3 separate regions of the Homo sapiens genome follow, and regions 2 and 3 are each linked to region 1. The links are contacts of gene promoters, found by promoter capture Hi-C in human tissues and cell types (Jung and others, 2019). All regions are on one chromosome and are shown on one strand. Each heading gives the region's core, a stretch centred on a gene start or on the middle of the fragment in contact. The rest is flanking DNA. Distances are from core to core; before and after follow the strand shown. Region 1 holds the start of RAX (retina and anterior neural fold homeobox). Region 2 has its middle 6.8 kb from the start of CPLX4. Region 3 overlaps GRP (gastrin releasing peptide).

Region 1 (4,103 bases), core at 1-2,500:
CATCGAAGATCTGTGCCTCTCCCTTGAGACTCTGGGCATGCCAAGTCGAGGAAGGACAGTAATAAATGCATGGACACCCGTGAATTCCGAGAAGCATTGGCTGCAATTTGGGCCTCGGGCCCTCCCAGATCCCAGTTCCTCAACCTGGGCGCTTTACCTGGACCCGGACCTCTGGTAGGTTGACCTTGCCGGCCAGCTCCTCGCGGCTGTACACGTCCGGGTAGTGGGACTTCTCGAACGCGCGCTCCAGCTCATGCAGCTGGTACGTGGTGAAAGTCGTGCGGTTCCGCCGATGCTTTTTCTTGGGCTGTTCCTCCTCTGACAGTTTCGCTTCGCCGGTGGCTGGCCCGACGGGCAGCCCTGGGCTCGGCCGTGCCTCCCCGGGCTCCTTGGGGCAGTAGGGTCGAGGGGCTGGGGCGACGAGGCCCGGGAGGGTCAGATGCACTCCCCAAAACACCCTTGGGCCGACCCCGCCTCGCTGTGGGCACTGGCCAGCCCGCCTGCGGGCTCCGAGATGGCCCGGGGAGGTCCGTGGTGAGGGCGGCGATGGGTCCTAAGCTTTCTCTGAATGCAAATTGGAAGCTCCCGCCATAGACGGTCCCCAACCCCGCGCCCAGTTGCCTTAATAAAAGTTAAGGAAGGGGCGCTCTCGTCTGGCCAACTCCTAAGCTCGGGCGCCCGAACGGCCTCGCACAGCCAGGGGTGCGCACTCACCTTCGTACTCGGGGGCGGGCGCCGGGGCTGGCGGCGGGGAGGGCTCGGAGCCTTCCTCGGGCGCCTTGGGGCAGGCGGGCCGCGCGCCCAGCCTCCTATCCCGCTCCTTCGCGCCCCGGGCGCCCCGCTCCGCCGGGAAGGTGCCGAGGATCCCGTCGTCCTTGGTAAACCCCAGGATGGCCTCGATGCTGTGAAGTCGCGAGGTGCTCCCGCCCGGGCTGCGGAGCAGGTGGCCGGCAAGCGAGAAGCTCCCGTCGGCCATGGCTGGCGCGCAGCCCGGCAGGTGCATGGGGAGCGCCGGGAGGCGGGAGGGCGCTTTGGAGACGGAGAGGAGAGGCTCGAAGCCGGGTCTTCCCGAGTGCGGCGGTGCAACCCGACGGGTCCCGACCCTAGGTCAAGCTCCGCGGGCGAAGCCCGCCCGGGCTGCGCACGCTGGGGGTGGCCGAGCGCTCAGCCCGCTGCCGCCTTAGTCCCAGAAGTCGGAAGTTCGGGCTCGGGGTAGCTGGGGCTCTCGGCGCTAAAGGCGGGGAGCCAACTGGCCCTCGGCTCCTCCCCTCTCGCCCTGGACCCAGCCCCTTCTCTCGGCCCCTCCCTCCACAGAGGGGCGTGTCCTCACCCGGCCCAGCCACAGGGTCCTCTAGTGGCCACCCCTGGGCCGGCACTAGGAATATTCCCCTTCCACCTCTTGATCCGTTTTAAGCTTTACAAACACACTCCGGGGATCCGCGGCGGGATGCCTGATGGGCTCGGGAACCTGGTCGCGGCGCACCCCTAGTCCTGCCTCAGTGGGGCCGACGCCCTTGGGCTCATCTCTCCCCTTGCGTTTGTCTCCCTCTACTTCGGGCTTACCCTCTCACTTCAGACTACCCCCTGGGGGTCACCTCCCTCCTTGGACGCACCCCTCCCCAGCTTCAGACTCGCCCCTCTAGCCCCCTCTGGCTCACCTCCGCGGGGCCGCCACCCTGGCCTGTGCCCCCTGGAAGCGCCGAGACCCAGCCGAAGGCTTCCCAGCCCCGCACTCGTCGCAGTTTGAATTTCCCCTCGCTGGCTCCCTTTTCGGGACCCACTCCTTTCTTGGCTGGGTTGTACGAAGTCCCGGACCTCGCGTTTAGTTTGTCCGTCTATATCTGTTGTAACTCCTCCCAGTCCCCTCGGACTTGAGCGCCGGCAGCCTCCCTCCTTCCCCGCAGCGCCCACCCCAGGGCCATTTATGTCCGCAAGTCCGGTGACCTCTAGCGCCCGATCGCCCAGCAGGAGACTGGGAGCCCCGAGTCGGATGTGCTGCCGGGCTCAGGTCCCGCAGGAGACCCACCTGGAGTTCCTCGCTCCCGCCCCTTGTCCTGCGGGGAGGGCGGGCTCCTTTACTGATGAGCAGCGGTGTCGCACTCCCGCCTCCCTCCAACACTCCGGGCCAAGGAGATGGCCCAGAGCTGGCTGGGGAAGGACCTTCTCCCGGGGAAGAGGCCTCTCGCCTCCCCGAGGGTTCAGGAGTAATTGGCTTGCAGTTCTTTCTCCTTTGGACCCCCTCGAGGCTTCCGTGGCCCACAGTGACTGATCGGCCACTTGGAAAGATGATTGGATAGGGTGAGTGTGTTTCACCTCCAGCAGCGCGGATGGACAATGGCGCTGTGAACGTCTCACCCCTCAAATCTGAGGCGAGACCCGAGGCGAGCGCTTGGCCTTCCCTGAACTGGTGGCCTGAACCGTGAATTAAAATGCTTTCCTATAAAAGCTCAAGGACCTAGAGGACAATATCCCTAAAATCTCCTTTTCAGTAGGCGCTCTGATCTCCACAGCAGGGGTGTCTTCTTTATCCCGCTTGCGTTCAGACAAGCGTTTGCTGCGTCCCTTTAGAGGGCAAGGCAACCGTCGAGGGCCACGTCGTGGGCATCAAACAAATTGGGAAAGGCCAGGGCCGTTGGCCTGGTGGAGTTTAACGTCCAGTCTGGAAGACAAGACAAAGGAAGAGGGAAAACACACATCCTCAGATCCCCAACCTTTAAATTGGTGTTAGAAGGATGTTTGCGGAGGACAAGTCAATTTCTTAAGGATCATTCAATGGTTAATTCCCCATGATGGGCATATCTACTTTTAATAAAACTATATAATGGCAAACTAAAATAAGGGCAAGCATGTGACTGCAGGAGATAGAAATTGAACTAATTCAAGTCAGAAATTATCTTTTAAGAAAAAAGCTAAAATTAATGAAAGTTAATAGCACTTTACAGTGTTCACATATTACTTTATTTACTTATTATTTATTTGTCTGTTTATTTTAGAGACAGGGTCCCTCTCTGTTGCCCAGGCTGGAGTGCAGTGGCATGATGGTGGCTCACTGCAGCCTGGAACTCCTGGGCTCAAGCAATTCTCTCGACATGTCACTTTGTAGGTTTCAGAATCTTCTCACATTCTTCATGTCATCTGATCTTCACAACCTTGTGAGGTGAGCAGGACAGACATATTGGTCCCCATTTTACAGAAGAGGAAACTGAGGCTCAAAGTGATACAGCTATTAAGTGGAAGGGTCAGGACTAGAACTCAGGCCACTGACTCCTTGTCCAGTGTTTTCTGCCTGCAGCTCATTTGTAATTATTATTGTAGTGTGTGATCTTTTTGAAAAGAATCAAAGCCCATCTTAGCCTGCAGTCTGTCTTTAATCCTTCCCTGAGACTGGATTCTGCATCTAAGAGGCGGAGGTAGAAGCAGTTTAGCTCCCAGAAGAAATAAAGTCAGAGCCTATAGAGAGTGGGCTTTGGGTACCGGCATCCAGGGCAAATTAACAAACCCTCTGGAAAGTCCCCTGACAGACCAGGTTTTGCCTCCTCCTCCGCCCCTCCTCCACCTTTCCAGGGCCCACAAATGGCCTGGTGGCACCCGAAAAGGTCTGACTGCCAGTGACATAGACCAGGTGGCTGACGTGCTGAGGTGGTGGTGATCAGAGGGCAGCTGTGGGGATAATTAATTGGTATTTGTTGTTCCCCCTCTGACCGAGAATGCTTTTTATGCAAACTTCCCCAATATTAAATTGATCTCGATAATCACCGCTAAACAAAGATTGGCAGCGTTTCCTTAAGCTCCTGCCCACACGCTGCTAAGGGGTTTATGGCCTTGTTTTCCAAAGTTAATTCCTCTGGAACTGCCCAGCTCCTCCTAATAAGTCCAGGTGAGGTTAGCTTTTATTTACTGTTTGTTTCAGAGTCTGGGGAAAAAAGCAGAAAAGACTTCAACAGCCACTGGCGAGGGCAGGGGTGGTGGTGATGGGGGTGGGGGAGACAGGGCAGAGGAGGACAAGGGGGAGTTGGGGCTTCCTTTGTGCAGGACATAAAGAGCTAGTCAGTACCATTGTGGGCACGGTGGAGGGTACTCCAAGCAATCAGCCGGGGGTCATT
Region 2 (4,103 bases), core at 576-3,075, 52 kb after region 1:
GGGCTCAAGTGATCCTCCCACCTTGGCTTCCCAAAGTGCTGGGATTACAGGTGTGAGCCACCATGCCTAGCCCCTAAAGTATTTCTTTTGCCAACACTGTATGACTGGTCTATTTCAGTTCACAGACATCACTTTCTGGTGAGGTAATAACTGTATTCTATTCCGTATCCTCTCTACCACAGAACTTCCATGTTGGTCGAGTGCTGAGTTGGTAGGCAATTCAGTGGTTGTTATTTTCTAACAGGACATGCTGGCTTCCATGATCTGATTGTAAATTGCCATGCTGGTTCTACATGGAAGGGGAAGATGGGCTGGGAACCAAAGATTAATTTTCTAACTTACTGTTTACACAGTGGGCTGACCAGTTTGAGCTGAGCTATGTTCATGCCTGGAATTCAGGTATATTTGGCAAATTGTAACATTCGTGGCATGGCTAGCAATAAGTCTATTTGCATTAAGTACTAAGGAGGCTCTTAGGAGAGACTCATCCAGAGCAGACACAGTAAGTTTGCCTCAGTTACAAAGCCTTAGTTCCCAGAGGCTTGAGGAATTCTGTAGTGTCTTTCACTCAGGTTCACCCTGGCCAAGGCTCATGAACCCATTAGGACTGTTTCCTAGAGATAGACCTTTAATTAAATAGTAACAGCCATTCTCACTGAGAACTCTGACACTGGGGCCCATGCATCACTGCTTTAGTATTTTCTTAACAGAAAGTAACATGCAGCGGGGAGAGAGTCATTCTTCTCCATTTGGCCACAAACTACCCATGATGGTTAATTTTACATGCCAACTTGACTGGGTCACTGGATGCCAGCATTATCTGGTTAAACATTGTTTCTGGTGTGTCTGTGAGGCTGTTCATGGAAGAGATTTGCATTTGAATTGGCTGACTGAGGAAAGCAGATGGTCCTCCCCAGTGTGGGTGGGCATCGTCCAATCTGTGAGGGCCTGAATAGAACAAAAAGCCAGAGGAAAGTTGGATTTGCTCTCTGCTTGAGCTGGGAACACTGATCTTCCTCTGCCCGGGACACTCATGGTCCTCAGGCCTTCAGGCTCAGATGGACTCTATACCGTTGGCTCTGGCTTTCAGGCCTTCCGGTTATACAACTGGCTTTTCTGGGTCTCCGGCTTGCAGATGGCAGATCGTGGGACTTCTCAGCCTCCATAATCATGTGAGCCATACCTTACTTATTTTATATGTATATATGTGTATATGTATGCGTGTATGTATTTAAAGGTTGTTACTCTGAAGAACCTAATACACCACTCCATGGACTGGCTCCTGGAAGCCTCCATTGCTTCTGTGGGCAATGGCAGTCGTGAGGGTGCCTGGTCCAGATGACAGAAGTGGCTGCTTGTTTGGCAGGACAGTGAAATCCTCCTGAGTAGCAGTGGGGCCTGTGTGTGTGATGGAACATGGCAGAAACGGTGCCACTGCTGGGCTGACATGGCAGAAATGGCAGATCCAGAATAAAGAGCAGTTAAGGGCCAACATAGGGGATGACGCCATCAGGAGGAGCAACACCCAATGGACATCACAGGGGTTCAGAGAAGAGAAAAAGAGTAAATGCCATGTGGCAGCTGACCAGGCAGCTTCTGGACTTATTTGTGAGGATCTGAGAAACGGAATGGGACTCCCAGCACTGCTGAGGACCATTTCCTTTTTTTTACAACTCATGAGCAGGTAAAGAGCCAAAAATCCTGTGTTGTACTGTTCTGGGTCAGTTCTCTCTCTGATTTTCAGACGCATAGACTAACAATAGCTAACATTTATTGGGCATAAGCATCTCGTTTCTAAGCTCTATTTATGGTGCTCTGTTATCTCAATTATCACCCCATTTTAGAGGTAAAAGATTAAGGTATGTCTCTGCCCTGACTCCAAGCCTATATTGCCTTCTGGCCATTTTTACTTGGTTAGTTAATGTCAGAATCTATGTTCCAAATGGAACTCAACCTCTTCTTCCCTCGTCTTCAATTCCCATCCTTTTTCTTGTGTTCCCTGTTTTAGGACACCTTACATCTAATTCTACTAGCCAGAAACAGAGTATCATTTTACATTCTTCCTTCTCATTCACTCCCCACTTCTAATAGTCATTAGATGCTTGCTATGGCCTGAACGTTTTGTCCCAACACTCCTATGTTGAAATCCTAACGCCCAAGGTGTTACTAATAGGAGATGGGGCCTTTTGTAGGTGATTGGGTTGTTAGGGTAGGGTCTTGATCTTCGACTTCCCAGTCTTCCAGAACAGTGAGCAATAAATTTGTTTTTTATAAGCCACCTCATTTATGGTATTTTGTTAGAGTGGCCCAAACTAACTCTAATTGTCCAATGCTACTATTGATAAGAGTTTTGGCCTTCATTCAGGCCACCATTTTTCACTGGGAGCACTGCGGCTGGTCTCTCTCAAGTCTCCTTCCTCCAATCCATTCTCCATGAAGCAAACAGAGATTGCAATGTTTGAAATGCTATTGCCTTTCTGCTTGATTTTCATGGCCTTCCATTACCCTCTGGATGAAGTCCAAGCTCCTTTACAGAGCCTTGGGATCTGGCCTCTGTATATCCCACCCAACATTTTTCCCAGCATAGCAGAATAAGCTTACAGGTTCTCACATAAACTACAGTTTCTTAACTCCATGCTTTTGTTCATGTTATTTTTTCTGGTTGGAGTAAGTTCACTTCCAGTCCCCCTTGCACTACACATACTTCAGCATATGGCTCAGATAACATCTTCTGTGGGAAGCTTCTCCAACCTACAACCCTGCCTCAGACTCAAGATTCTTCAAATACGTGTGTGCATCAATTCTGAAAAATTCTTAGCTATTACACCTTTGAACAGTTCCTCATCATGACTCTCCCAATTCCTTCTAGAACTACTGGTAGACTTATGTTGTACCTTCTCACCAATTGCCAATTTATTGCATTTTCCACCACTTTAATATCTGTGTTGTACTCTCGGTAATTTGCTCAGGTCTATCTTCTAATTCAAGAATTCTTTCGAGCTTTGTCCAATCTGGTATCCAAATTTGATCCCCACCTCCCATATCAAAGTTGTGTTTTGGGTGGTCCTTTGGAACTCCAACTGTCTTATTTTTCAGTGTTTCATTCCTTCCTCATGATTTCCAGTCCTTTTATAAACTCTTCAGTATTTTTAATGTCATTTCAAGTATACATATTTGTTGTCTTCTTCTGACTGTTCTATCATCTCAGATTCTTGGAGGTGCCAGGTTTCATTATTGTATCTACTGTCACTCTTTCGTATTTCTCTGGTTTGGTTTATAGTTTTTAGAGCTCATTTTAGTTAGGACTGGCTGTCCCTATGGTTGTCTAATGTACTTTTGTTGTGCAATTATTGCTAATGAGTGGTTTTGTTTTGCCTTCTGGATTTTCCCAGACAAGAACAAATTTACACATTGTTTTTGACTTAAAAGAATTCCACACCATATAGGTAAAGCATACAGCTGGGCTTCAATTTCTTAACAAATGTCCCCTTACCCAGAGCTCCAGGGAGAGAGCTTCCTACGCCTTCTCGGAGCTGTTGGGGTGGAAGTAAGAGGTCCTTTCAGCCCATTTCCACTGAAGGAGCAGCTCTTCCAGAGTCCTCACTTTATCCTAGCATCTCAGTTCGAGCCTCCTGGGTTTTCTAGGCCTAAAGCCATGTCTTCAATGCCACAAATGAATTTTCAATGACAATGTCAATAATTTTCAATGACAGTACCTAGGGCCTATGTGTAGTCTAGTTTCTGCCACTCCCTACTACTAGTAGGCTTCCTGATCGGGTTTTAAGTTCTGAATTCTTTCGAACCCATCTATGTATTTAAATCTTTCATCTTATCCACCATTTGTCTTTACCAATTAGTCTATCATTTTTTGAAGCCTCCTTATAAAGACGCTCTTTTACTATGCTTATAACCATGCGAGATAAGTATTATGAGGAAACTGAAGGTCACCTCCAGTAAGTGAGAGAGCCAGGATTCAAACCTAGATTTGTCTAACCTCAAAGCCCTACTCTTTTATTTTTTTTTTACATTAACTCTCAGAATTGGAATTACTTGGTTAAATGGTACTTGTCAAAAAGATTAAAATATTTTTTAAACTACCACTA
Region 3 (4,103 bases), core at 1,191-3,690, 47 kb before region 1:
CACAAAGACCTTTTTCCTTGCACACTTTAGATCAAAAGCACCATAGTTTTGTTGACGTTAGAAATTTCAAAGTGCTACAAAGTCCAACTACAGAGAGAGGAAAAATCAACTGTAAGAAATAGAGAACATGAGAATATTCAAGCAAGGGTCTAAAGTGTTAAGAATGCAGACCTTGAATTCTGTACCCACTTCTGACTCCAAGTTATCCTCTCTTGCATACATAAATTTTCATGTTTTTGATGGTTTGGCCTCCTTAACAGCAGCTTTTTAAAAAAATTATTTACAAGGCTAGTACACATTCCTGGAGCCACTGATAGACTTTCAGACACCCAAGAGAAAATTCTGCATTTATGCGGCTGTAAAGTGTTACTCAGGGCTTGTTTTCAACTTGTTTTTCACTACACTCTTAACAAACAGTAAATCTGGGTAGTTTTCTCAGTTCAGTCTCAACTAAAACTCTGAGAAAGTTTAAATGAAAAATTCCTTTGGTATTTTTTTTATTACGATAAAAGGAAAGAAATATTTTTAAAAAACCACACAAAGAAAAGCATGGAGACTTTTATTTTCAGCAGCAATTCAAAATTGGCTGGGGAAGATGTTTAAACTCCATCTTTCAGCTGGAAATAGAATTTGGTGCACACAGAATTGATGATAGAATTTTAGATATGGAAGCCTCCTTAGATTTAATCTAGTCTACCCTGTTCATTTTATAGTTGAGAAAATTGAAGACTAGGGGTGCTAAACGACTTGGCAGAGGTGACCTAACTAGTTAGGAGAGGTGCTGGAACCAAACCCAGGGTTCCTGGGTTGCAGTTCTGAATGCTGTCTAGCTCATTGCACATTTTGAACAGAGAGCAAAATCTATCTGTCGTTTATGAACTAACTCTTAATAAAACATGATTTATTCTGCATTTAGGAGGAAGCAGCACAAACACAATTAGCTTTAAATTTCTTTTAAATTTCTCATTCATTCCCTTTGGTTAAATTTGTGGCATTCTGAGTGTTTTTGTTTTTGTTTTTACAGGGCACTTAATGGGGAAAAAGAGCACAGGGGAGTCTTCTTCTGTTTCTGAGAGAGGGAGCCTGAAGCAGCAGCTGAGAGAGTACATCAGGTGGGAAGAAGCTGCAAGGAATTTGCTGGGTCTCATAGAAGCAAAGGAGAACAGAAACCACCAGCCACCTCAACCCAAGGCCCTGGGCAATCAGCAGCCTTCGTGGGATTCAGAGGATAGCAGCAACTTCAAAGATGTAGGTTCAAAAGGCAAAGGTAAAAGAAACATACATGCAAGATGGGGTGGGAGGTATCTGGGGAGAGGTGGAAAGAGGGCAAGTTCAAAGGAGGAAGAATAGAATTGCTTATGATATAAACCTTCACAGTCACTACATTAGGCTAACACATGCTAAGCACATTGACAGACAATTTCTACATTCTCTTCTTTTTGACATATAGTCAAAAGGATATTGATTCCAAACTCCAATTTAGGAGTTTTTTTCAGCAATTTTGTCTATTTGCCATTACGCATTGATGGGATTTTTTTTTTAACACACAGGCCCTACAAGAATGTTTTGATAGTGAGTCTGCAAACTATTTGAGTAAATCCTTGTGGATCTACAGATTTTATTTTATTTCTGGTGAACACTAGTGGAAGTTCCTGTTTTTAGAAGACAGCATTCTTGTTTGCTACCTTTGACACAAAGTAGCACTTCTTCATATTTGTTCCAGGAGTACCTAGTTCAGGTTTCATCCTAATATTTTAAAACTCAGTGAACATGTCTGAGATCAACAAATCCATCCTGTATATGATTTTATAGAGGATAGGGGAAAATAATTATACTAAACTGGCAATGCTTAAAGACAGTGAGCAAGATAAGAGAGAATAAAATTTACAGGAAGAAAGCAAGGCAACTGAAAATGAGGTGATTATCACTAACTTTTAAGTTTCCATGAAATGTATAATAAAATACAAAATAATAATTACAATAACAACGGTGGCTAGTTTTACTGAATATTTACGATAATCCAAGTATTGGGCTAAGCAGTTTACCTCCATTTTCTCGGCTTATGCTCACAGAAGTCTTAGACGGAAGATTCTATTATTCTCTCCATTTTAGAGGTAAGGAAACTAGTCCCATAGCTTTTCACTGATAAAATCAGGGTAAGGGCCTGTGTTCAGTCGGCCTCAGACAGTCTGTACCATGCCAGACATCTTCCAGAAATGGTCCTCATTGATCTTAATATAAAGGATCCAGGCTGAAGGCCTTGCTACTTGCTGCTTCTGACAATAAATAATATTGCTTTCCACTCACAGTACTGGAGAGCTTCCTTCTTCACTCTTTCATGGTGAAGACTGATGGCCCCTTTAGGGGCTCAGAGCTGCCTTTGCCAAGCCTCGGCTGGCTTTCTGGAGGGAAGCTTTCTATTTCACTGCCCTTTGGGTCTATTCTGGTCTTTCTCTTTCTTTTTTTTTCTTTTTTCTTTCTTCCTTCCTTTCTTACAAGTTCTGGCTATGTGGTTTCTTTTCTTCCTTTCTTTCTTTCTTTCTTTCTTTCTTTCTTTCTTTCTTTCTTTCTTTCTTTCTTTCTTTCTTCCTTTCTTTCTTTTCTTTCCTTTCTCTCTTGCTCTCTCTCTCTCTTTTTTTTTTTGACAAGGACTGGCTATGTTGCCCATGCTTGTCTCAAACTCCTGGGCTCAAGTGATTTCCCTCAGCCTTGGCCTCCCAAATGTGGGTTTCTATGCTAAATGGAAACTGAAGTTCACTTGTTGCACTAAGCACCTAGAGGGAAAGTCTTTGTAGCTTTTATTCAGAAAAAAAACAAAAACCAAAAACAATCCTAGATTAAATAAACCAATACAGAAATAAATACCAACTTTGTACAAAACCCCAAGCGATTGTCTGGTCCATACCTGTGTCATAGGTGTTATGTCATCAGCCCCCTTCTTTACTGATTGATCCCATACTCTGAGGGTTCTGTGAACTTGCAGGTGACTTCTCAGATTCTAGCTGCCATGCCTTTTTCATGGTCAGGTGCTTTGCCAGAGTTCCTGTAGGTGGATATCCAACAGCAGTACCCTTCTCATTTGTCTGAACAGTAATAAAAATTGCCACCACAAAACCCTTGAAAATAATTTTTGCAAACATTGAACTGGACTTGCCCTCATAGCTCGTTCATGAAATACTCCCCTCTACTAACACACAATCATGTTACTATTCTATAGTGCCTCATTTTTGAAACAAACAGCAGTGTCCAGTTTGTTATTTTATTTCCTCAACCTGGCTCTGCATATCTTTGGAATCTTTTGGCAAATTCAACTCCTTCCTTAAGGATCAAAAATTTTCCACCACATTCAGAAGAATATTCTGTAAGCTTCAAAGGCAACAGCAAAAAGAATAGCTCCACAAAGGTGTCTGAGTAGCAGTATAATAGGATGGGTTGAGTGGGCAGCTGCCGAGAGTGACTGCTTAAAGGGGGCAGTCCTTATCCCAAGTGAACTGAAAAAGGTCATCAAAAAGATGATAAAAAAAATCAGGCTTTGCTTTTCTATTATTTTTATGCATTGTTTTTCTTTTTACAGGTTTAGAAAGCCCATCTCATTTAATTCCACCTCCAGTTGAATAATTAGTTATCGCACACATTGGTACTATTCTTTTGGCTATATTTCCTAGTAACACAAAAACAAGTTCCACAGTTAGTGTTTGCAGAGACCAAAATATTTTATTGCTTCTCTTGCACTGGAAATTCCACCTCAATGAAAGTATGCTGTTATGAAAATTGAAAACACCTTACAATGATCTTATTCAAAAAGAAGGGGTGCCAAGAGAGTAGTTCTATTAGAACCCATATATCTCCCATATCTTAGAGTTATGGGAGTGTTAGAGGGAAACTTAATAACTTAGCTAAGCATTGCCAGAATTAGCAGCAGGAGTTTTCAGAGGCTGAAGGACTGTTCTTAAAATTAAAAACTATCTACATATGCTCTCCTCTCTCATTTTAGTAATAAAACATCAAGTACTGTTGCCAACTCTCTTGGAGCTGTGGTTAGAAACTCCAAGCATTTCCTATGTTTTGATGACAAAGATATTTACTTAATTCATAAAGGATGT

The links. The method cuts DNA at HindIII sites, captures the fragments that hold promoters and counts their contacts. A contact is called where the count stands out against the background at its distance.
Region 2: a contact is called between a fragment that was not itself captured here and the fragment with the promoter of RAX in region 1, in 1 of the 25 tissues and cell types used here (H1 embryonic stem cells).
Region 3: a contact is called between a fragment that was not itself captured here and the fragment with the promoter of RAX in region 1, in 1 of the 25 tissues and cell types used here (mesendoderm cells).

What each region holds. Positions count from the first base shown.
Region 1 is chr18:59,272,204-59,276,306 of GRCh38, forward strand. RAX (retina and anterior neural fold homeobox) reads right to left here and starts at 1,251. Exons shown (of 3, transcript NM_013435.3): 1 at 715-1,251; 2 at 158-411. The coding sequence starts at 1,003. The HindIII fragment of the contact is 4,384 bases long and covers 987-4,103 here.
Region 2 is chr18:59,323,419-59,327,521 of GRCh38, forward strand. No RefSeq gene overlaps it. Among named protein-coding and RNA genes, the nearest start is that of CPLX4, 6.8 kb to the left of the region's middle. The HindIII fragment of the contact is 3,967 bases long and covers 1-3,809 here.
Region 3 is chr18:59,224,468-59,228,570 of GRCh38, forward strand. It overlaps GRP (gastrin releasing peptide), which reads left to right. Exons shown (of 3, transcript NM_002091.5): 2 at 1,025-1,267. Among named protein-coding and RNA genes, the nearest start is that of GRP, 6.4 kb to the left of the region's middle. The HindIII fragment of the contact is 4,769 bases long and covers 57-4,103 here.